Linked DNA regions of Homo sapiens: region 2 is linked to region 1. The links are contacts of gene promoters, found by promoter capture Hi-C in blood cells and fetal thymus (Javierre and others, 2016). All regions are on one chromosome and are shown on one strand. The core of a region is centred on a gene start or on the middle of the fragment in contact, and the rest is flanking DNA. Distances in the headings are between cores, read along the strand shown.

Evidence for each region. The method cuts DNA at HindIII sites, captures the fragments that hold promoters and counts their contacts. A CHiCAGO score of 5 or more calls a contact.
Region 2: a fragment that was not itself captured here is called in contact with the fragment with the promoter of XPNPEP1 in region 1 in 3 of 17 cell types (naive CD8 T cells, non-activated CD4 T cells and naive CD4 T cells); the score reaches 5.4 in naive CD8 T cells.

The regions. Positions count from the first base shown.
Region 1 is chr10:109,921,353-109,925,682 of GRCh38, forward strand. It overlaps XPNPEP1 (X-prolyl aminopeptidase 1), which reads right to left and starts at 2,159. Exons shown (of 21, transcript NM_020383.4): 1 at 2,050-2,159. The coding sequence starts at 2,081. RefSeq lists a silencer at 1,835-2,374. The HindIII fragment of the contact is 9,615 bases long and covers 1-2,566 here.
Region 2 is chr10:110,544,736-110,549,006 of GRCh38, forward strand. No RefSeq gene overlaps it. Among named protein-coding and RNA genes, the nearest start is that of SMC3, 21 kb to the right of the region's middle. The HindIII fragment of the contact is 640 bases long and covers 1,361-2,000 here.

The DNA of each region.
Region 1 (4,330 bases), core at 909-3,408:
ACCTACACCTTCTCAACTTCATGATGAGCCACAAAGTGGGTAAGGGGCAAGAAGCATGCAGAGCACTTTCAATCTTTGTATAAGATGGTTATGGTAGCACTAGAAAAGGCCTTCTCCCTCTTTTTCCAAGAAATTCTGGCAGGGTTCTGAATACCTCACCCCCCTGCAACCCCCAGTTCATGGGAATCACACATGTGTAGCGTTCAGCATGGGGCAAAACAAGGAACAAGATGCTCAATCACACCTAGTGGATGAGACAAGGGTAAACTGGAACAAGTTCTAAGGTTGGGAAGTAAGCAATGTTGTCTTTGTCTACCCAGAATCCATCCCTCCTTTTGATGGGAACCTTGGTTTTCCTTTTGAGAATGTACCCTCTCCATTTCAGCCCAAGGGGTTCAAAGCAGTCTTATCCAAACACCTAACAGGCTCTGGGACCCAAAGCAGGTCAATCCCTCCCTCTGGCCATAATGATTGGTTCACAGATGAACATGAGAATTAAGGCAGCCCAGTGAGCATCAGATCAGGGACTTCTGCTCCATTAGGAAGGAGGGCTCAACTTCTCTGCTGGGGCTGTCAGCCTAGAACTGTCATAACCTGCCATAAGGAGAAAGTCTCCCTGAGAATGAAGCGGATACTGAATAAATCAGAGCCAAGAGATGATAAAGAGAAGTCTGAAGCCAATGTTGGTGGTGCTCCCGGATTCAGCCACACTAGAAGCCAGCTCAACCCCATTTTAGGTAAATCAATTTGAGTTCAGTTTCCATTACCGAAACTGAAAGAAGTGCTCACTTTTACAAGGAATGGCACTCAAATTCTACCAGTAGGGGAGGCGCCTGTGGAAAATGGCTTCCCCTCTCTCAGCCTTTCACTGGACTTTCCTTTGAGGTAAAAAAGACTCTACCAGCTGGTGTAGAAAAGACTCTTCTGCTCCTAAAAGGCTGTGAGTCTATAAATCTAGCACAGATCACCTTGGCCCCCTAAAGACCACCTGAGGCCTACAGCCTAACTCATCATTATCCACTTGCCTGACTCCATTTCCAGCACTTCACTTACAGGAAGCTCCTTCCAGATGGAAGTTCTCCACCCCTCCCACATACTTCCACAGGGTGGGTCTGGTTTTCTGCTCACCCTTAACAAGCTGTGGCAACGGCAAATCCAGGTCAAGGTAGGTTTGGGACCCCCCTACTCACAAACACAAGCAGGAGCCATGGTCTGTGTTCAGCAAGAAAGCCTGGCCATGCTGCAAAGTGAGTGCATTCATGTCTCAAGTGGTTAGCAGGTGGGTGACCCCTTGGGGATGGCCAGGGAGTCTGGCCTGTGGCCTCCATGAACTCTGAACACCTCTCTCCGTCTCCCACTTTGTCAGAGGCTCTGATAAGTACATCCTGGTTATGGCAGGGGAATAAACTAAAACATGTTTAACTTGAGGCCGGGAAATTATCTGTCTCACCCTCCTATGCCCAAGGAGAGCCCAGGGCAGGCTACTGGGGGGATTTTCCTGGAGATTATACCAAAATATTCCCTTACACAGCCTCTGAAACCATTTGGGTAGGGAGGGGCCCGCGACCGTCTATCCTTGTGGCGGTGACAGATCAGTAGAGTGAATTGCAGGAGTCAGTATTGTCGAGATTGTAACTTGAGGTTTAGATTCCTGGGTAACAGAAGCGAGGGCAAAGGCTCGCCCACCTCCCCGGACACGAAGAGGGGCCAACTTCCTCCAAGAACGGGGCCTTCCCGCGGGCCAGGAACTGTGACGGCCGCCGCCCCCTCAGGCCGAGTGCAGCAGTTCCGCGGGCATACGCGTCCAGGAACCAGACTCGGGCCGCCCCGTGCCCACCGACCCTCCGGAAACGAACCGGATCTCGCCCGGCCTCATGGACCCCTTCCCCCGGCTCCTGTTCCGGGGCTCCGGCGAGCGCGGCCCTCGCCAGACTGCGGCGGGCCGGGCTCCTCACCCGCGCGTCCCTGCCCGCCGAGGTGCAACACGCGCGGCCGCGCAGCGAGGGCTGCACGCTGCCCGGACGCCGGCTGCCGGCGGAGTGCCCTCACCTTACTCGCGGTGGCTTTCTGGAGGCTGCCATTCGGCGGTGACGTGCCCCAGCCCACGTCAGGGGAGCGCAGACCAGCTGATCACCCGCGGAAGGGCCGGCGCGAAGGAGGCGCGAGAGCCGGCGGGCGGGCGGGCGGGCTAGCGCCGGGTCGGCCACGCCCTCGCCCGTGGCGGGCGCTGGCGCCGCGGCCCCGCCCACACGCAGGCCCCGCCCACACTCCCGGACCTGGGGTTCGCGGCCGCAGCGCCTGCGGCCCAGAGCGGGGCCTGCCCTTCCACACCAGTCCGCATTGCCTCTCCCTGCAGCGAGCGGGGAAAGGACGCAGTGCTGCTGAGTGTCTTCATTTTTGTTCGTTTTTGTCGTCATTCCTCAAAGAGGAAAAAGGGCTTTGCCGAATAAAGGGGCTACTGTCCCAGGGATTTTCCGGCTTAATTTAGGAGGGCTGAGAAGAGAGGGACGTGGCCGGCTCCGGAAGAACCTCGACAGGGTCTTCGAGGCTTTGGAACAGGGTCTCAAGCTTTAGAAATGTCCCCAAAAGTATGTTCCCAGAGAGCTTCAAAATCCAGCTCTCCGCTCCGCTTGGATAGTAAATAGCCCCTTCAAACTTAACGTCCAAACGGAACTCCTGGAACTCCCAATGCACCGAAGCAAAGCAAAAACGTTCTCCACCAGTCTTCTTTGCCATCTCAATCAATGGCTACTCTATTCTTAAGAGGCAAAATTTAGGAATCCTCCCTGCCTCTTCTCTTTCACACCCCACATCTAATCTGCCAGCAAAATCTTGTTGGCCCTGCCTCCAAAATAGACCCCTAATCTGGCCGTGTCACACCACCTCCACCTCCTACCCTCTGATGTGCATCAGAGGGTTGTACCACCCCACCCGTGTGGTTACAGCAGCCCCCCAAATATCCCCTCACCATCCCGCACCTGCACAGTCCAGCCTGAACAAAGCCGCCAGACCAGTCCTTTGAAGCGTGACACCAGGTCACTTCTTTGCTCAGCACTTTCCATTAATTTCTCGTTTCACGCAGCATAAAAGCTCCATTTGATCTACCCCCAGCCACATTTCCTCCTGTTCTCACCTTCCTCACTCTTCTTCAGCTGAAATGGCCTCCTGGCTCTCCTTGAAAAAGCAGGGTACACTCATGTCCCAGGGCTTTTGGACTTGCTCATCCCCCAAATATTGAGGCTCCCTTCCTCATTTTCCTTCAAGTCTTCGTTCAAGTATCACCTACCCTGACCATCCTATTTAAATTTGTAAATCATTCCAATATTCCTAATCCGCCTTACCCTACTTCATTTTTTCCATAGCACTTACCACCTTTTAACAGGATTCTTTTAATGTACTTATGTGTACTGTATTCTTCCCCCTCTCCTGCCACCACCCACGCACACAACAAAACCATCAGTGCAGATTGTTTCTGTTTTGTTTAATGATGAACAATATCTAACATGTCATAAGTTCTCATTATATATTTTCTGCAGAAATGAATGTTTCAGAATGTGCACTCCTCAAAAGCAGGGATGGTGGCTCTCTTGTTCATTGTTATTTCCCTGGTGCTTAGAACAACACCTGGCACTAAATGAAAGTGACCACATTTTTTTAAAGGTGAATGGCACCTCCTCCTGCTTTGACCTTGGTGTAAGGCCTAATATACCTGTATCAGCTAGGTTCTGCTACCTGCAAGAACTCAAAGTCGTTATTGAATAAGCATTTAGGCAAGCCGAATTAGACTGTGTAGTTAAAGCATGAAAAAACTAAAGATGTGCTTCCTGGGAAAGCAGCACACATCTGTTGCATTTCCCCAAATTTATGAAGCCAAAAACAGAGAGATTGTAAATAAAATACTGGTTCCAGCCCACATCTGAAAGCTGGTGGGAAAAATCAAGTTATAAGAGAAAACGAGATAAGAGAGAGAGAGATAAGTGAAACTTAAGGGGGACAGGTATTTAATAATCACATTGCCTAAAAGAAAAGGAGTTGGCTCAGAATTTACGGCATCCAGCTTCAGGGGAGAGAGAGAAATACCTTGCATTCCCTGAGCTGGATTTGAGTTCCTGTTTGCAAGATAAAAAAAGGAACCCTTTCCCCTCTTGAAGTTTTTTTGTTTGTTTGTTTTTTGAGATGGAGTTTTGCTCTTTTTGCCCAGGCTGGAGTACAATGGCACAATCTCAGCTCACTGCAACCTCTGCCTCCCGGCTTCAAGCAATTCTCCTGCCTCAGCCTCCTAAGTAGGTGGGATTACAGGCATGCGCCACCACACCCGGCTAATTTTTTG
Region 2 (4,271 bases), core at 431-2,930, 620 kb after region 1:
GTGCCCGTCACCACGCCTGGCTAATTTTTCTGTATTTTTAGTAGAGATGGGGTTTCACCGTGTTAGCCAGGGTGGTCTCGATCTCCTGACCTAGTGATCCGCCCGCCTCGGCCTCCCAAAGTGCTGGGATTACAGGCATGAGCCACCGAATCCGGCCTGTATGTAAGCTTTTATTCATTGAAGGAGCCTGCATAGAGTGCTTACTATGTGCCAGGCCCTGTTCTAAGCAGATATGAAACCACTGAACTTTCCCTAATAGCCCTATGAACCAAGTGCTATTGCTATCCTTATTTTATAGAGGCACAGAGAGGTTAAGTATATCTTGCACAAGATCACAGAGTGGCAGGACTGAGGTCAAACTTCAGCTGTCTGGCTCCAGAATCTGTATTCTTAACCACTGGCCACCCAGCATCTCATCAAAGCCCTTGACCACAGTCATGAGGCTATTGCTTAAGTCTCTTCTCCTAGACTGTGGGCAGCTCAAGAGCAGGAGTCTTGTCTAACTCTGTGAATCCCAGCTCTGATAACAGCCTAGTACACAAATAAACCAAAATATAAGCATACTACTTATCTACTTGAGAGCCTCTTGATTAGGGCCATGATTGCAGGACATAATAATAAACATTTATGGGACACTTCAAAAGAAAACATAATCCTCATGCCAGCACTGGGAAGGAGGTACTATTATGATCTTCATTTTACAGACTAGGAAACTGCAGCAGAAAGAAAAAAGCTAAGTAATGTGCCCAAGGTCAGGAACTGGATTTGAGTTGAGAGCTGCTTGACTTCCAAGCTTGCATTGTGAAGGTGAGCATGAACTCCTTGAGGGCTGCAATTTTAAAGTTAGAACCAAGTTTGACTCTGGACAACCACAGAGAGGAACAAAAAAATGAACATTTTACTGGACAATGCAATATGCCAGGTTCTGGTGCCAGGTGCTTAACATAACTCAGGTAGTCCTCAGAACAACCTGGTTGTTCCGTTTCACAGATGAGAAAACGGAGGTTTAGAGAGACTAAGTGAGTTTCCCAAAGTCTACTGGGAGAGCCAAAACTGGGTATAATTCCACAATTCATCAACTTTCCACTATTACTAAGCTGCTGGGCCTCAGTTCTCTCATTTGAAAAGATGGAGTCCAGCTCAGCTTTTTTTTTTTTTAAACAACATTAAGTGTGTGCTTATTGTGTGCCAGGCACTGTGCTAAGAACTTCACATTTATTATGTAATTTCATCCTCATAACATTCCCTGAGGTGCTATATACTATTAGTATTATTTCTACTTTACAAATAGAGAAACTGAGGCTCAGACAGACATATGTTGTTACACAGCGACTCTGAGGCCCAGCCCGAGTTTAACTGAAGCTTGTTAGAATCATAAGCCAGACTCTTGCCTATTTTCCTGTGCGGCCTCCAGCAGTCTCTGGCAGCCTTTGGAGTGAGGACATCCTGTGTTCCTCCAGAATCAGAACAAGGCTGGGATGGACGTGGGATGAGTTCCTCAGTGCGTGGGCCTCTCTTCCTTTGGATTTCAAAGACTCACTTCAGTGAAGTCCTGTCAAAGTCAAAAGGTGACATTGAATGGACAGTCGGCCCAGGCTCAGAGTCCAGTCCTGGCACCTCAAGGGCTTGGCTATTTCCTCTGATCCTGTTGTCAAGGCAACCTTGGATCCCTTTGTGGTTCTGTGGTTATTCTCCCTCTTGTGTCCTTGTCTTCCTACGGTTTCAAGAGAATACTTTAGAGACAGCGGCTCCAAATGGCCTACTTGTCACTGATTGAAGGAGATGCTGACTTGAGATAAAAACAGTTCCTAGGACCCTTCAAGGCCTCAACTAGAAAAGGCAATTCTCTGTAAACACGTTGAGGGCAGAGGTTGTCTGTCTTATCATAGCTGTACCCCAGCACCTCACAGGATGCCTGGAACAGAGTAGGTGCTCAGTTAACATTAAGCAAATACATGAATGAATGAATGAATGAACTGATTATGCAAACGAGCTCCCTAAGCTTTTCAGGGGTTGAAAAACTGGGGCAGAGTGATGGGCTAAGATATGTGGCAGAACTAAGAATAAAAGTGCATGTGTGTGTGTGAGTGTGGGTCCCACGGCAAAGGCTCCACAACCCCTGTGATGCATTGGCCTGTGTACCTCCACCTCTCCTCTCCACGTCTTGTGAGCTAGAGCTGTTGGTTGGGTATAGACAGTTCCTGCCCACGCCAGGCTAAAGAAGCAATCTCTCTCTCTTTCTCTTCCTCCCACCCCCGTAAATTGTGGCAAAATACACATAACACAAAATTTACCATCTTAAGCATTTTTAAACGTATGTTGATGTTATTATGCAACTAATCTCCAGGACTCTTCATCATGCAAAGCTATCTCTTTAATCTTGTGTCCATCCCAATTTTACCTACTATTTTGAATTTTAGCTACAAATAGACCCTGGGTTTTGACCTCTGTATTGAGTCTTAGTGTGTTACAGGACAGTATTGGCGACCAACAAATGTTCACTGGGTAATTGATCTTACTCTGTGTTTTATTTTTTTCCTGCGTGCTTCAATTTCTCGGTTTACAAGCAATTTTGGCTTTGTGATGCATCCCACAATTACAAGAACTTCTTCACCGCCCTCTAGTGGTAAAGATGAAGATGTGACACTCAGAATAACCATTCGCCTTTCCTGCTGATGTTGAACATGGCCCCTTTTTTTCTGATAACTCGCTGGACTTTATATAATCCAAAATTGTGATTGCTCCAAAGTTGGCAGTTCATCCTCACTTTACAGATAAAGTTGACCTGTAGAACAGTGCTTCTCAAATTGGCTGGCGAAGAACCAGTTTTTAAAAGAATTTTAATCTGCAAACCAATCCATTGTACAATAAAAATGAATTATTAATACTGGACACATTACATTAAAAAACAAAGATATACAAAATTGAACCAAATTTTATTATCATATTCAACAGACAAAATTGCATTTCAATAAATATAATCAGAATAAACATAACGGGAAAAATAATTGCAAAATCTGTACATGTTTATTGAATGTGTGTATTATATGATTAATATATAAATTGCTATTGCATTTATAATTTTTGTTGTTCTGCAATTATAACTAAATGAAAAATTTTGAGTAAAATAGTGTTTCTCTACTTTGAATGAACACCATGCATATAAATATTGAGCATTCTTAATGGACAAATACACAAGTTATGGCTTGCCAACCTATCTAACCCAGCCAGAATGGACTATAATGCTACTTGCAAAGTAGAATGTGTGATGAGATTGCTTCTATTTTTGTTGTTGTTGTTGTTGTAATTTAATAAAGAATAATTATTTTATTTATTTGTTTACTTATTTATTTATTTTAGAAATGGGATCTCACTGTGTCACTGAGGCTGGAGTGCAGTGGCAAGATCATAGCTCACTGAAGCCTCCTGGGCTCAAGCGATCCTCCCGCCTCAGGACTGCCCCCCTCCGCCACCCCCATCCCCTGCCTGTAGCTAGGAAGGACTGCAGGCACGTACCACAGCACCTGGCTTCTATATTTTGTTTTAATAAGAGGTTAGTGGAGAACCAGTCTCACAGAGCTTTGTTAACGGGAAAGGAAAAAGAGATTTTAAGACAATTTTAGGAAGCTCAGGATTTCCATCTTTCACTTTTATTCAAAATGAAGCAAATGATTCTGTATTTTCAAAATTCGTCAATTATTCAATTGCCAGTTCCAACAGTTTATCCTGTAGAGTTAAATTGTCTTTCAATGAAAGCAACAGATTATGGATCTATGAATTTCCCATGCACGAATCTTCTTTTGATGGAAATAAAATGTAAATGTCCCATAACTTGTTTGACCATAACATTTTACAGATATGCAATATCAAGATTATCACTAACATCACTGATAATTGTTGCTAAACTATGGGGCATGTTGTAACAGTCTCTGGATATTCTGTTCTTCCAAGCTTCTGTCATTTTTGCCCTTCAATCTTCTTTGCCATTGAAAATCATGCTGCATTTTTTCTCCCTGCTTAGAAGTAGTAAAAGCATTTAAAATGCCAAAAATATCACACAAAGAAGCATGCCTATTGTCCCAAACCACATTGGGACCTTATAAAGATGTTTGTTTTACTTTCTAGGAACACTAAGAGTTTGTTTCACAGTCAAACATTCCTAATAGTACTTTTCTCTTCAGTAAGCATCGTATCTCACCTACAACAGTTGTTTATGATCAGCTTCCATATGAACACATATTATAATAAAGAGAATAATCTCGAATTTCATG